Linked DNA regions of Homo sapiens: region 1 is linked to region 2. The links are contacts of gene promoters, found by promoter capture Hi-C in human tissues and cell types (Jung and others, 2019). All regions are on one chromosome and are shown on one strand. Each heading gives the region's core, a stretch centred on a gene start or on the middle of the fragment in contact. The rest is flanking DNA. Distances are from core to core; before and after follow the strand shown. Region 1 has its middle 23 kb from the start of SLCO1B3. Region 2 holds the start of SLCO1C1 (solute carrier organic anion transporter family member 1C1).

The links. The method cuts DNA at HindIII sites, captures the fragments that hold promoters and counts their contacts. A contact is called where the count stands out against the background at its distance.
Region 1: a fragment that was not itself captured here is called in contact with the fragment with the promoter of SLCO1C1 in region 2 in 2 of the 25 tissues and cell types used here (liver and thymus).

Annotation. Positions count from the first base shown.
Region 1 is chr12:20,784,946-20,791,419 of GRCh38, reverse strand. No RefSeq gene overlaps it. Among named protein-coding and RNA genes, the nearest start is that of SLCO1B3, 23 kb to the left of the region's middle. The HindIII fragment of the contact is 3,191 bases long and covers 2,421-5,611 here.
Region 2 is chr12:20,692,793-20,699,919 of GRCh38, reverse strand. SLCO1C1 (solute carrier organic anion transporter family member 1C1) reads right to left here and starts at 4,588. Exons shown (of 15, transcript NM_017435.5): 1 at 4,113-4,588; 2 at 215-368. The coding sequence starts at 343. The HindIII fragment of the contact is 14,433 bases long and covers 1-7,127 here.

The DNA.
Region 1 (6,474 bases), core at 2,767-5,266, 92 kb before region 2:
TTTTAAAAGCTATCTGCACACACAAAAGCACCATCACAAGAACCAAAATTCAGGTGAGCAATCACAGTATCTGGTTTTAACTTTGTATCATGGAAAGAGGCATTGAAGAGGGCAGGAGCAACAGTTTCAAATTGCCAATGCTACCCCTCCCACATTTCTGGCAGCAGCCTGAGGGAAGCAGAGAGAATCTGTGCACTGTGGGGAGGGAAAGAACAGCAACTGGGGGATTTTACATTCAACTCAGTGCTGCTCTGTCACAGTGGAGAATAAAATCATGCTGAAATCATCCTGCAGCAAAGCACAGAGGGAAAATTCAGACCAGTCCTAGCCAAAGGGGATTCACTCATCCCAGCCATTGGAAATTGAGTTACTCAGCAAGCCATGCCACCACAGGGTGAAGTGTTCTGAGATCCTAAGTAAACTTGAAAGGCAGTGTAAGGTACAAGGACTGCAATTCCTAGGCAATTCCTGGGGTTAGGCTGTGCTTAGAGCCAGTGAACTAGGGTGTCACATGACCTAGGTAGACACTAGCTGACATGGCTAAAGAAGGACTTGCTCCATCACTTCCCCAACTGCAGGCAGTGCAGCTCATCACAATAAAAGTGATTCCTTCCTTCTTAAGGAGAAGCGAGTGAAAAGTAAAGAGGACTTGGTCTTGCATTTTGCACACCAGCACAACCAAAGTAGGATAAGTCACGAGGCAGAGTCATGAGGCCCCCATTCCATGCCCTGACATTTCTAGAGACACGCTGGGATAAAAGGTAACCAGATAACCTCAAAGGGAAGGACCCAGTCCTATCAGGAAAAATCACCTGCTGACTAAAATGCCCTTGGGCCCTGAATAACCAGAAGCGATACTCAGGAAGTACACCATGGGCCTTGGGCTCTGAGATGTGCTGGCTTCAGGGGAGACCCAGCACATTCCCAGCTGTGGTGACAAAGATGAAGGACTCCTTCTCTTGAGGAAAGCAGGGGGAAAAGTAAATAGGCCTTCATCTTGCATTCTAGGACCAGCTCAGCCATAGAGGGATAGACCAACAAGCAGGGTCTTGGGGTCCCCAAGTCCAGGCCTGGCTCTTGGACAGCATTTCTGGACCTGTCTGGGCCAGAGGGGAGCCCATTGCCTTGAAGAATGAGACCTAGGGCTTGGCGGTATTCACCACAAGCTGATGGAAGAACTCTTGGGCTTTAAGCAAACATGGGAGGTGGCCTAGGAGAAATCCCTGTAGACTAGCGGTGATGGTGGCCACAGGAAGAGACACCTCTGCCTGTGGAAAGGAGAGAAAAGAGTGGAAAGGGCTTTGTATTGTGGTTTGAGTTCCAATTTTGCTGCAGAAGAATAGAACATCAGGTAAATTACTAAGATTTTTTTCACTCCAATTCCTGGCTCCCAAACAGCATTGCTAGACACGCCCACAGCGTGGGGAAACTCACCACCATAAAGAAAAGGACCTTGCACAAAGCCCACTGCTGTGCTGTCTTTGGGTCTGAATAGGCACAGTCCCAGTTGTGGCAACAGCATGCTTGAATCACCATAGCTTCAGTTCCAGGTGACTCAGCACAGAAAGAGAGACTCATATGTTTGGGGGAAAGTTAGGGAAAAGAACAAGAGTCTCTGCCTGGTAATCCAGAGAATTCTTCCAGATCTTATCCAAGGCTACCAAGGTGGTACGTCTATGAGTCTGCAAACACCACAGTGTCATTGGGCTGGGGCACAAGTCCGTTGAAACACCTAGAAAGCTTTCCCAAGGACAGGCACAAACAAGCCCAGACTGTGAAGATTACAATAAATACCTAATTCTTCAATGTCCAGACACCAAAGAACATCTACAAGCATCAACACCATCTAGAAAAACATAACCTCACCAAATCAACTAGATAAGGCACTAAGGACCAATCTTGAAGAAACATAGATATATGACCTTTCAGGCAGATAATTCAAAATAGCTGTTTAGAGGAAACTAAAAGGAATTCAAGATAACACAGAGAATGAATTCAGAATTTTATCAGATACATTTAACAGAGATTGAAATAATTAAGAAGAATTAAGTAGAAATTACAGATGTGAAAAAATGCAGCTGATATGAAGAATATACCAGTCTCTTAACAACAGAATTGATCAAACTGAAGAAAGAATTCATGAGCTAGAAAATAGGCTACTTGAAAATACATAATCAGAGGAGACAAAAAATAATGAGAAACAATGAAGCAAGCCTACAAGATCTAGAAAATAGCCCCAAAAGGATAAATCTAAGAGTTATTGTCCTTAAAGAGGAGGTGGAGAAAGAAATAGAAGTAGAAAGTTTATTCAAAGGGAAAAAATCATAGAACTTTCCAAACATTGTGAAAGATATCAACATACAAATACAAGAAGGTTATAGAACACCAAGCAGATTCAACCCAAAGAAGATTACCTCAAGGCATTTCATAAGCAAACTGTCAAAGGTCAAGGAAAAAGAAAGGATCCTAAAAGCATCAAGAGAAATGAAACAAATAACATACAATGGAGTTCCAATATTTCTTTCAGCAGACTTTTCAGTGGAAACTTTACAGGTCAGGAGAGAATGGTATGACATATTTAAAGTGCTTAAAGAAAAAACATTTACCTTAGAATAGTATGTCCAGTGAAAATATACTGTAAGTATGAAAAAACCCAAAGACCTTCCCAAAGAAATGAAAGCTGAGGGATTTCATCAACACCAGACCTGTCCTACAAGAAATGCTAATAGGAGTTATTCATGCTAAAAGAAAAATGTGTCAATGAGCAAGAAGATATCATCAGAAGGTAAAAAAATCACTGGTACTAGTAAACAGATAGAAAATCATAGATTAGTATAACACTGTAATTGTGATATGTAAGTTTCTCGACTTAAATAGAAAGACTAAATGATGAATGAATAAAAAATGATAACTACAACATTTCAACACATAGACAGTAGCATAAGACATAAAGAGAAACAACAAAAAGTTAAAAATTGGGAAGACAAAGTTAAAGTGTAGAATTTTTATTAGTTTCCTCTCTACATGTTTGTTTGTTTATCTAATCAGTGTTATGTTTTCATCAGTTTAAATAATGGGTTATAAGATAGGATCTGTAAGCTTCATGTTAAACTCAAATGAAAAAACATACAACAGATACACAAAAAATAAAAAGCAAGAAATTAGTGTGTACCACCAATGAAAATTACCTTTACTAAAAGGAAGATAGGAAGGAAGAAAAGAAGGGAAGACCACATAGCAATCAGAAAATAAATAATAAAATGATAGGAGTAAGTCCTTACTCATCAATAATAGCATTGAATGTAAATGAACTAAACTCTCCAATCAAAACACATAAAGTGGCTGAATGGATGAAAGAACAATACCTAATGACCTGTGTCCTACAGGAAATACACTTCACCTATGAAGATACACATAGATTGAAAATAAAAGGGTAGAAAAAGATATTACATGTCAATGGAATCCAAAAAAAGAGCAGGATTATCTATACTTGTATCAGACAAAATAGATTTCAAGACAAGAACTGTAAGAAGAGACAAAGAAGGTAATTATGTATTAATAAGGGGGTCAATTCTTTAAGAGGATATAATGATTATAAATATATATGCACGAAACACTGAAGCATCCAAATCTATAAGGAAAATATTATTAGAGCTAAAGAGAGAGTTAGACACCAATACAATAACAGCTGGAGACTTCAATGCCTCACTTTCAGCATTGAGCAGATCTCCCAGAAAGAAAATCAACAAAGAAATATTGGACTTAATCTGCACTATAGAATAAATGGACCTAGTAGATATTTACAGAACATTTTATCAAAGGGCTGCAGAATACACATTATTTTCTTCAAAACATGGTTCATTCTCAAGGATAGATTAGATGGTAGGTCACAAAACAAGTCTCAAAACATTCTAAAATTAAAATAATATCAAGCATCTTCTCTGTCCACAATGGAGTAAAAGTAGAAATCCACACAGCTACAGTTAACCTATTTTTGACAAAGATGCTCTATTAGTTCATTTTCACACTGCTGATAAAAACATACCAGAGACTGGGTAATTTATACAGGAAAGGGTTTAATGGACTTACAGTTCCACATGGCCGGGGAGGCCTCATAATCATGGCAGAAGGCAAGGAGAAGCAAGTCACATCTTACATGGGTGGTGGCCAGCAAAAAGAGAGAGCTTGTGCAGGGAAATTCCCATTTTTAAAACCATCAGATCTTGTGACATTCATTCACCATCACAGCTCTAGTAGTTGGTGTCCCAGTAGGGACTCTGTGTGAGGGCTCCAACCCCACATTTCCCTTTCACACTGCCCTAGCAGAGGTTCTCTATGAGGGTCCTACCTGCAGCAAACTTCTACCTGGACATCCAGGTGTTTCCATACATCTTCTGAAATCTAGGCAGAGGTTCCCAAACCCCAATTCTTGACTTCTGTGCACCTGCAGGCTCAATAGCATGTGAAAGCTGCCAAGGCTTGGGGATCGCACTTGCACCCTCTGAAGCTATGACCTGAGCTATGCCTTGACCCCTTTAGTCATGGCTGGAGCATCTGGAATACAGAGTATGAAGTCCCTAGAGTGCACACAGTAGGGAGGCCCTGGGCCCAGCCCATGAAACAATTTTTTCCTCCTAGGCCTTTGGGCCTGTGATGGGAGGAGCTACCTCAAAGGTCTCTGACATGCCCTTGAGACATTTTCCCCATTTTTTTTTGGAGATTAACATTTGACTCCTCATTACTTATGCAAATTTCTGCAGCTGGCTTGAATTTCTTCTCAGAAAATGGAATTTTCTTTTCTACTGCATTGTCAGGCTGCACATTTTCTGAACTTTTATGCTCTGTTTTGCTTTTGAAACTGAATGCCTTTAACAGCACCCAAGTCACATCTTGAATGCTTTGTTGCTTATAAATGTCTTCTGGCAGATACCCTAAATCATCTCTCTCAAGTTCAAAGTTGTACAAATCTCTAGGGCAGGAGCAAAATGCCACCAGTCTCTTTACTAAAACATAACAAGAGTCATCTTTGCTCCAGTTCCCAACAAGTTCCTCATCACCATCTGAGACCACCTCAGCCTGAATGTCATTGTCCATTTCATTTATCAGCCATCCAAGAAGTGTCTAGAGTGTTCCAAACTTTCCCACCTTTTCCTGTCTTCTGAGCCCTCCAAACTGTTCCATCCTCTGCCTTTTATACAGTTACAATGTCACTTCCACATATTCAGGTATCTTTTCAGCAGCGCTCCACTCTACTGGTACCAACTTACTGTATTAGTCCATTTCATACTGCTGATAAAAACATACCTGAGACTGGGAAATTCATATAGGTAAAAGGGTTTAATGGACTTACAGTTCCATATAGCTGGGGAGGTTTCATAATCATATTGGAAGGCAAGGAAAAGCAAGTCACATCTTAGATGGATGGTGGCAGACAAAAAGAGAGAGCTTATTTAGGGAAACTCTGTTTTTAAAACCATCAGATCTCATGCAACTTATTCACCATCACAAGAACAGCAGGTCACAGACCCATCCCCATGATTCAATCATTTCCTACTGGGTTTCTTCCACAGCATGTAGGAATTATGGGAGCTACAAGATGAGATTTGGGTGGAGACACAGAGCCAAAACACATCAGATGCCATGGAAATACAATGAGGAAAAGACAGTCTTTCCAATAAACTGTGCTGGGAAACCTGGCTATCCATATGCAAAAGAATGAAACTGGATCTCCATCTCCCTCCTTATATAAATATAAAATCAAAATGGATTAAAGATTTAAATCTAAGACCTTATACTATAAAACTAAAAAAAGAAAACAGTGGGAAACTCTCTGGGACATTAGTCTGGGCAAAAATTTCTTGAGTAATACCCCTCAAGCACAGACAACAAAAGCAAAAATGGACAAATGTGAACACATCAAGTTAAAAACTATCTGCACATCAAAGGAAACAATCAACAACGTGAACAGACAGCCCACAGAATGAGAGAAGTATTTGCAAGATACTCATCTGACAAGGGATTAATAGAATATATAAGGAGCTCAAATAACTCTATAGGAAAAAATCTAATAATTTGTTTTACAAATAAGCAGATTTGAGTAGACATTTCTCAAAAGAAGACATACAAATAGCACACAGGTATATGAAAAGGTGCTCAACATCACTGATCATCAGAGAAATGCAGATCAAAACTACAATGAGATATCACCACACCTCAGTTAAAATGGCTTTTATTGAAAAGTCAGGCAATAACAAATGCTAGTGAGGATGCGGAGAAAAGGGAACCCTCATACACTATTGGTGAAAGTGTAAATTAGTATAACCACTAAGGAGAACAGTTTGGCAGTTCCTTGGAACACTAAAAATAGAGCTAACATATGACCCAACAATCCCACTGTTTGGCCTGTTATACCCCAAAGAAAGGAAGTCAGTTGATAGAAGAGATACCTGTATTCCCACGTTTGTTGTAGCACTG
Region 2 (7,127 bases), core at 3,339-5,838:
GGGCATTTAAATGAGCCCAGGAAAGTAATTTAACCCACATGGTCAGGTAGAGATTGCTTGCACCGCCTGGCAAGGTGTGGTTTTAGTAAATTGCATCTAAGATCTTTTTTTTTTTTTAAAGGAGAAAACAATTCTCATTCTAACTTCATTATATAGATGATATCTGGACAGAAAACTAAGAGCATCAACACTATTTACTTCTTGGTTGCTCTACCTTTAGTTCACCACAGCATGGTTGCTTTTCTTCTGAGGAGGGATATTCTGTTTTAAAAGAAGGCCTTCCAACAGGTTGCACTGAAGTTTTGCAGAACAACTGGATATTTTCTTTGGATGAAGTGTCCATTATAAACACATTCCTTGACTCTGATCTGTCAAAGTTAGTTTTTAAAGTAAAAATAAATAAATACTACGCAATTTATTAAATTTTTTTATTCAACAGTATACCACAATTCTATAGACGCAATTTAAAGTGAATCTACCTTTTGTTGTCACAGTAAGTTGGCAAATGTTTTCAATTAAAATCAACCAGGATATCTGATTAACTAATCCTGCTATTGGAACTCTGTAGCCAGCATTCTTTCTCAATCTGCCCAGTTTAAGCCTCATTATGGCAAAGAATAAATTTAAGTGTTGCCTTTGGAATAAATAATGAGGCAGAATTTTGCTAACTTTGTGGTCTTGCCAGTTTAAACTAGGAGCAAGCAGGAAAGGAAGAAGAGGAATTCAACTATTTGAATATTGATTCATTAGGATAAAGTCTTTAAAGCCTTTAAATCTATCTTCTTAGCAAAACAAATAGAAGTTTTACATTCATTATAGGTCCCTGTACCACCTTATGATTCCTGTAGCACCCAATGTGAGCCTTAAAATATGACAAAAAAGAAGAGGTCCAATTTGTGTATTGTTTTTGTTTGATAAATAAGGGAGCAACATGATTTGTGCCTTAGATTTAATTCAGGTGAAAGAACAGTCTTTGATCAGCCTTAAAGTAAAAAAGACAGCCTTGCTTCCCATGCTCAATTTCCCACCGCCCCTCACAGGACAGGATCACACACTGAACCTATTTTCTCCCTGTTCACATCAATATTTACATATCCTGTGCCCCTACTTCTTTAGGATTCCACATGGCTCAGTGCCTGCCTGATAATCTAACCTAAATCAAGGAATTCAACAAACAAAGTATTTCTCAATCTCCCTAATATTATCAGATGACCCAATTGTACATTAATAGAGGACTTCTATATCCACATAATAGGAGTGGAATAATGTTATTCCTAAAGGAATAATGTTAGGAGTCAAATTTCATGTATTGTGGCAGAAATCTATTCTGACTGAGTATATCACCTTGACTTTATGCAATGCTTGTTTTGTGTTCACTAAACCTCATCCCTCACCATTTCAATTCATACTTTCTCAAACTGAAAAATCAAGTAATAGTATAAACGATTTGCTTTGTATTAATAATATGAAGTTAAAACATCAGAGGACTTCAACAATTTAAAAATTAAGTGGATTCCTCTAGGGAGTGGGAATTGACTAAAGGAAAGGATGAGACAAGGGTCTGGTTTCAAAAAAATTATTATTAGGCTTTTGGATTCATTTTATAAGCATTCATAACTTTAATTTTTTAATTGAAAAAGAAGAGTGAGTGAAAGAGAAAAATTTAAAAACAAAAAATAAGCAAAACAAAGAGCTAATAATGTTAATCAAGACAAAAAACAAAGATATAAATACATAATATTAATGAGATAAAACACAGATATTTAGGAGTATAAAACATAAAAAGATGCATCGAATGTTGAAGTAAGTTTAATATCTTGACTTAATGGATAAGTTTCTAGCAAATATTCATTACCTATATTGATAAAAACCAGAAGAGAAAATAGCCAAGAAAGACATTATCAAAAATACTCTGAAACTATTCCCTAAACAAAGATACTAAGGATAGATGATGCACCAGAAGTGCTTTATCAAGGGATATTCTTTGAGGAAAGATAGCCGATAATGGAAACAGATAATCATTGTCTCCATTAGTTTGACAAAAATAACATTATCTTGGTAACAAAACAGCACAAAGATAGCACAGAAAGGAAAACTTCAGATCAAGCCCATAGATTATAAAAATTCTAAGTAAATGCTAGCAAATCCAAATTAACTCTTGCTCTATGATTAGAATTATTCTAAAAGATGCAACAATTGGTTAATTACAGGAAATTTATTCACCTAAATTACCACATGAATAATTCAAAATAAAAAATAGAATTTCATTACATGAAAAACATCAGTTGATAAAATTCGACATCTATTACTGATTTAAAAAACAAAGTTTAAGAAATGAAGAATATAGAGATTCTTCCTTAACAGTATCTGATACCAACAGCCAACTTCCTATATCTACTGAGTCACTAGGACTACTTTTCTAGAACAGTATTTTGCCAGGACAAGGAAAACAGGGTTTGGGAAATGCAGAGTTATACAATGTTAAATAGGTATCTTTACTACAAAACTATGAGTAAAAATATTGCCAAGCAAGAGATATACAAACCAGAAAGGTTTTAAAATAAGAAACGGATAATTATTAAATTTCTGGCTTAAATTGCAATATTCTTCAAAGGATTAAATTATATAATTCAAATTGGCCTTCTGTTTTTGGGGATTCAGATATCATATTATTTCTCATCAGTCATAATATTAAAGTCAGTGACCAGAAAATACAAATAAATTGTTTAATAATAAAATCTGCTATCATTTATCCTAAATTTATCTTTAAAAGATCCAAAGTGTTACATCTAGAATGCTAATGTCAAAGAGAAAAAATAATTATGTTAAAAACACTACTGAAAAACTTGAGATACTATAGCACATTTTAAGTTATCTAATATATGGAGGTGTTGACACAAAAATCACTGTAACTAAAATTCAAAAGTATAATGAAATATAAATATAGTCATCTCAGTTCACTTTGTGTTAGGGCAAAATAGGATCCAGCTTAAACTATTGGCACTGCATAGCTTTACTGAAGTGTCTTGATGGTTAATGCGCAAATTATTGCAAGTGTAGTATGTTCCAAGGAGGCTACAGTTCATCCCCTGTAAAAAGAGAGGGAAGGAAGCTCAATGACATGAACGGAAAGATCCTTGGGGCCTGCAGGCTCTCTCTCTTCATTTGCAACTGCAGAAGTAGAGCAAGAGTACACAGTTATTCAGAATTATTTGCATTTGGCAAATCCTTAATTGATCTCTGGCCACTTGAATAGATTCTTCCAGGAAAAGACATACGACAGTTTTCATCCAATACCCTGGGTTTGGAGCATAACTTATTCTGGAGGCCAAAGAAAAACAAGCCAAGCAGTTTCTCTTCCTTTGGTTCAAAAACATTGAATAATCAGTCCTCATTAGTTTCAAAATCAGCCCTCCAGATTTTAAATGGAGAGAGCAAGTGGCTTAGGAAGGTTGTAGTTAGATCCCGCAGATGTACTCAACCCCTCTGCTCTGCAACTGACTCGGACTCTGTCCAGCAATCAGTCCCCAAGGACTGCCACAGAGAAAGTCCTAAAGGCAACCACGCTCCTCCCTCTCTTCTCTTGGCCATCTCCTGTGAGGAAAACCTCTGTCCTGGCTTGACTTCTGGACACCAGGATGCCTCCCTTCAGACAAACTAAAAAATAGCCTCACGGCACTTGCTGCAGAGGAGTGTGTGTTGTTTAGAAACTAATTTCTCACCTAATACAAATTATCTGTGTCAGATTCAGATTTAATAAGTACTATTTTTGTGTTGAGTAATGTACGTACTTTTTCTAATCCTTAAAACAACCCAACAAACGTAATATTAGAATTCCATTTTTTAAATTAGATGGCCCAAAGCAATTAAGTGACTTGTCAAAAGCTAAACAATTTATAAGCATGAGACTCAAAATTTGAACTCAAATTTGAGTTTATCTGATTTCTTTAACCAATCTTCTCTCTTATTTCCATCAAACTAATGAGGGGATCATCACCTTTCACTGATATTTTTATGGATAAAACATAAATCGCACAGAAATTAAGGGTTAATCTCCCATAAGAATCTGATGTATTAGTCACAAAATATAAAATGAGAGAACCAAGTCTTACCTGGAGGAAGAGATCAAAGATAGCCAGTTCCTTTCAATGTGCTCAGCAAGAGGATGGACCACACACCACAGACTGAAAGAGGAAACTGAGGTAAACTCCACAGCAATTTTGAACAATTTTGCCAGGTGGGGAGAGTGTGGGTGGACACAAGCAGAGGAGATTAGGGAAAAGAAAAGATGAAGGGCATGGTCTCACCCCTGAGCGATCTCTTCTCTTTCCTCTTTCTTCCTGGCCTCTTTTTTCTGGCAGTCAGCAGAGAATTGGCCACGCTGGCAAGGCCACTGACGTGCATCTCAGCTCCCAGGGCACAGAAAGAGCTGAAGCTTTTGAGCCATTTCTTTGCAATTTGCTGCAAGTTTAAGGCCACACGTGATAAAGCTTTCTTTATGGGAGAGAGTGAATAAAAGAAAAGACCACTTGTGATCTTACTTGCTGATTCCCAGAAAACACAACTCCGCAGGGGGCAGAGGGTAAGGAACAGAAGCCAGAGGAGGGCGGAAGTTTATAACAGAGACCCCTCCTCCTTCCAGAAAGTTTTTAAGCCAACTATTCCTTAGGGACATCACTGGGATCCTTGTGTTTTCTTTGTTTGTGTGTTTTGGTTTTGGTTTGTTTTGTTTTGTCTTTAACGGTTCTTGGGCTAATTTGCTACATGGTTTTCTTTTCCATTGGTGTTCTAGAATCTTTAAGGACCAAGTATCAGGTCACAATCAAAGCTCTGCAGCGCTCTGTACAAAAAGAGTTAATTCTCAGAGACATGATCAGTTGCTCATATTTACAATTTCTATGAGTTTTGAAAACAGAAAAGAAACACGTTGAATTTTTGGCATTCAATTGTTTATTCTGCCTAATTCCAAGGATAAATAAATCCTTGCACTGAGAAAGTCCACAATTCTAATACATTCTTTTTCCAAGAGAAAAACTTTAGAGGATCTTAAGCAGTAGTAGTTTGCATTTATTTTCTACCAATAAATAAATTTGCTACCAGAATTATCCAAGATTCACCCTACTCTTAAGTGGCTGAGACTCTGGGATGGTCACTTAATTTTACTGAGTCTCAACTTCTTCCTTTGTAAAGCAGAATTTTTTTGTTTAAAAAAAAAAAAAACAGATTTATAGGGCTGTTTTAAGGATTAAATTATATAATGTATTCAAAAGCACATTGCAAATGAGCGGAAGGTATCATCATTTTATATATATATATATTTAGTTCACATAATGGTCAGAATAGTTAATATTATTCAAGCACATTTTACTACAAAAGAAAGAAAAGAAAATGCAAGAAAAATGGGTTTATATTAAACCTTGCAATGAAGCAATGGTGTTTTCACACTCTGAAAGGCCAAATATTTTACTTTAACAATCAAACCAGACTTTTCCATCGGAAATAGTGAGCAAACATCCGAATACATTGAGTGTTAGTCTAGACTTCTCAGTGTCTAACAGGTGGCCAGACCACTGTTTTATTCAAGAGGAGACAGTATTTACCAGCCCAAAGGGCATAATTTTCCTCACCAAGAAATGAAATTCTCCCTTGAGAATGTAATTTTGTCTATTCCCAACTGGCTCAGTCTCACTCTCCAACACGATTCCTTTTCTTATTTCCAGAGTCCACAGTTAATGTTACTGTTTTGAATGCACATAATGTTTACACTTATTCAGAGCTTCTTATGTGCAACCTTGCATTGGATTGTAGCCTACTTCAGCCTTTCATTCCCATTTCCAAACTCTAGATGAGGGAGTTAACAAACTTCTATAAAGGGACAAATAAGAAATATTTTAGGTTTTGTAGGACCATGCAATCTCTATCACAACCACTCACCTCTGCCATTCTGGTGGTAAATTAACCACAGACAACATATAAATGAATGCATTTCCTAAGACTGCACTAACAAAGTACTACAAGCTGAGTGACCTAAAACAGAACTTTATTGTCTCACACTTTTGGAGGCCAGAAGTCAAAAATCAAGGTGTCAGCAGAGCCATGCTCCCTCTGAGACCTGTAGGGAAGAATCCTCCTTACCTCTTCCACCTCCTGGTGTTTGCTGACAGCCTGAACTCCTTGTTTTATAGGTGTATCACTCCAACAGCTGCTTCTGTTACCACATGGCCATCTTCTCCCTTTATGTCTCTGTCCTCTGTACTTAAAAAAACGCTAGTCATCTTTGGCTGGGGACCACCCTCATGACCTCATCTTAACTTGATAAGGTCTGCTAAGACTCTCTTTTCAGGAAAGGTGACATTCACAGGTACCGGGGGTTAGGACTTCCTCATATCTTTTTGGGAGACACAATTCAAGCCAGTACACTCATATTTTCATTTTCCTCCTTACTTGAATTTTTTCATGCAATTATTTTAATCACTTCCTTCTGTATACCCTCAATTCTCCTGTTTCTCTTTCAATTTATTGATCTTCCCAGGCAAAGCTCACCTCAGATAAATCCACTTTCTTTCTTCTTAGTATTTGCATCCGCACTGTTTTAAGTGATTGAAGAACAACTCAGTAACATGCCCTTAGGGCTTATTTTATATTTATAACCACTAAACTCACTGAGTCATAGAGGCATTGCTAGACGTAATACTTTTTAATGACCCAATCACTTTACCTCTCTCAAATCTTCATTTCTGGCTGCACCCTGATTATTAGCTGATGATCTTGTCTAGGAAATTCACTAACTAAACAGAAATATCAGGAGAAATATTATACTCTGTCCTCATGACATCTACTCTCTACCCAAATGTACATTGCTATTAGCTGTCTTCCTTCTTGCTCCTACAGTCCATGTTTCTAAGCCCAAACTTTAGTCACATTCCTTGTATATATTTCCTCTCCTCCAGTTCATTTTTCACCAACTCTAATCAGGTTTTGCCTTTACCACTCCAATGCAAATATTTTCATCAAGAACATTAAAGGCATTCACACTAATAAATCCAGTGATCAATATCCAGACCTCATTTTAATTGATGTATTAGCAGAATTGTATGTCATTAATGTGCCCTTCTCTTTGATACATT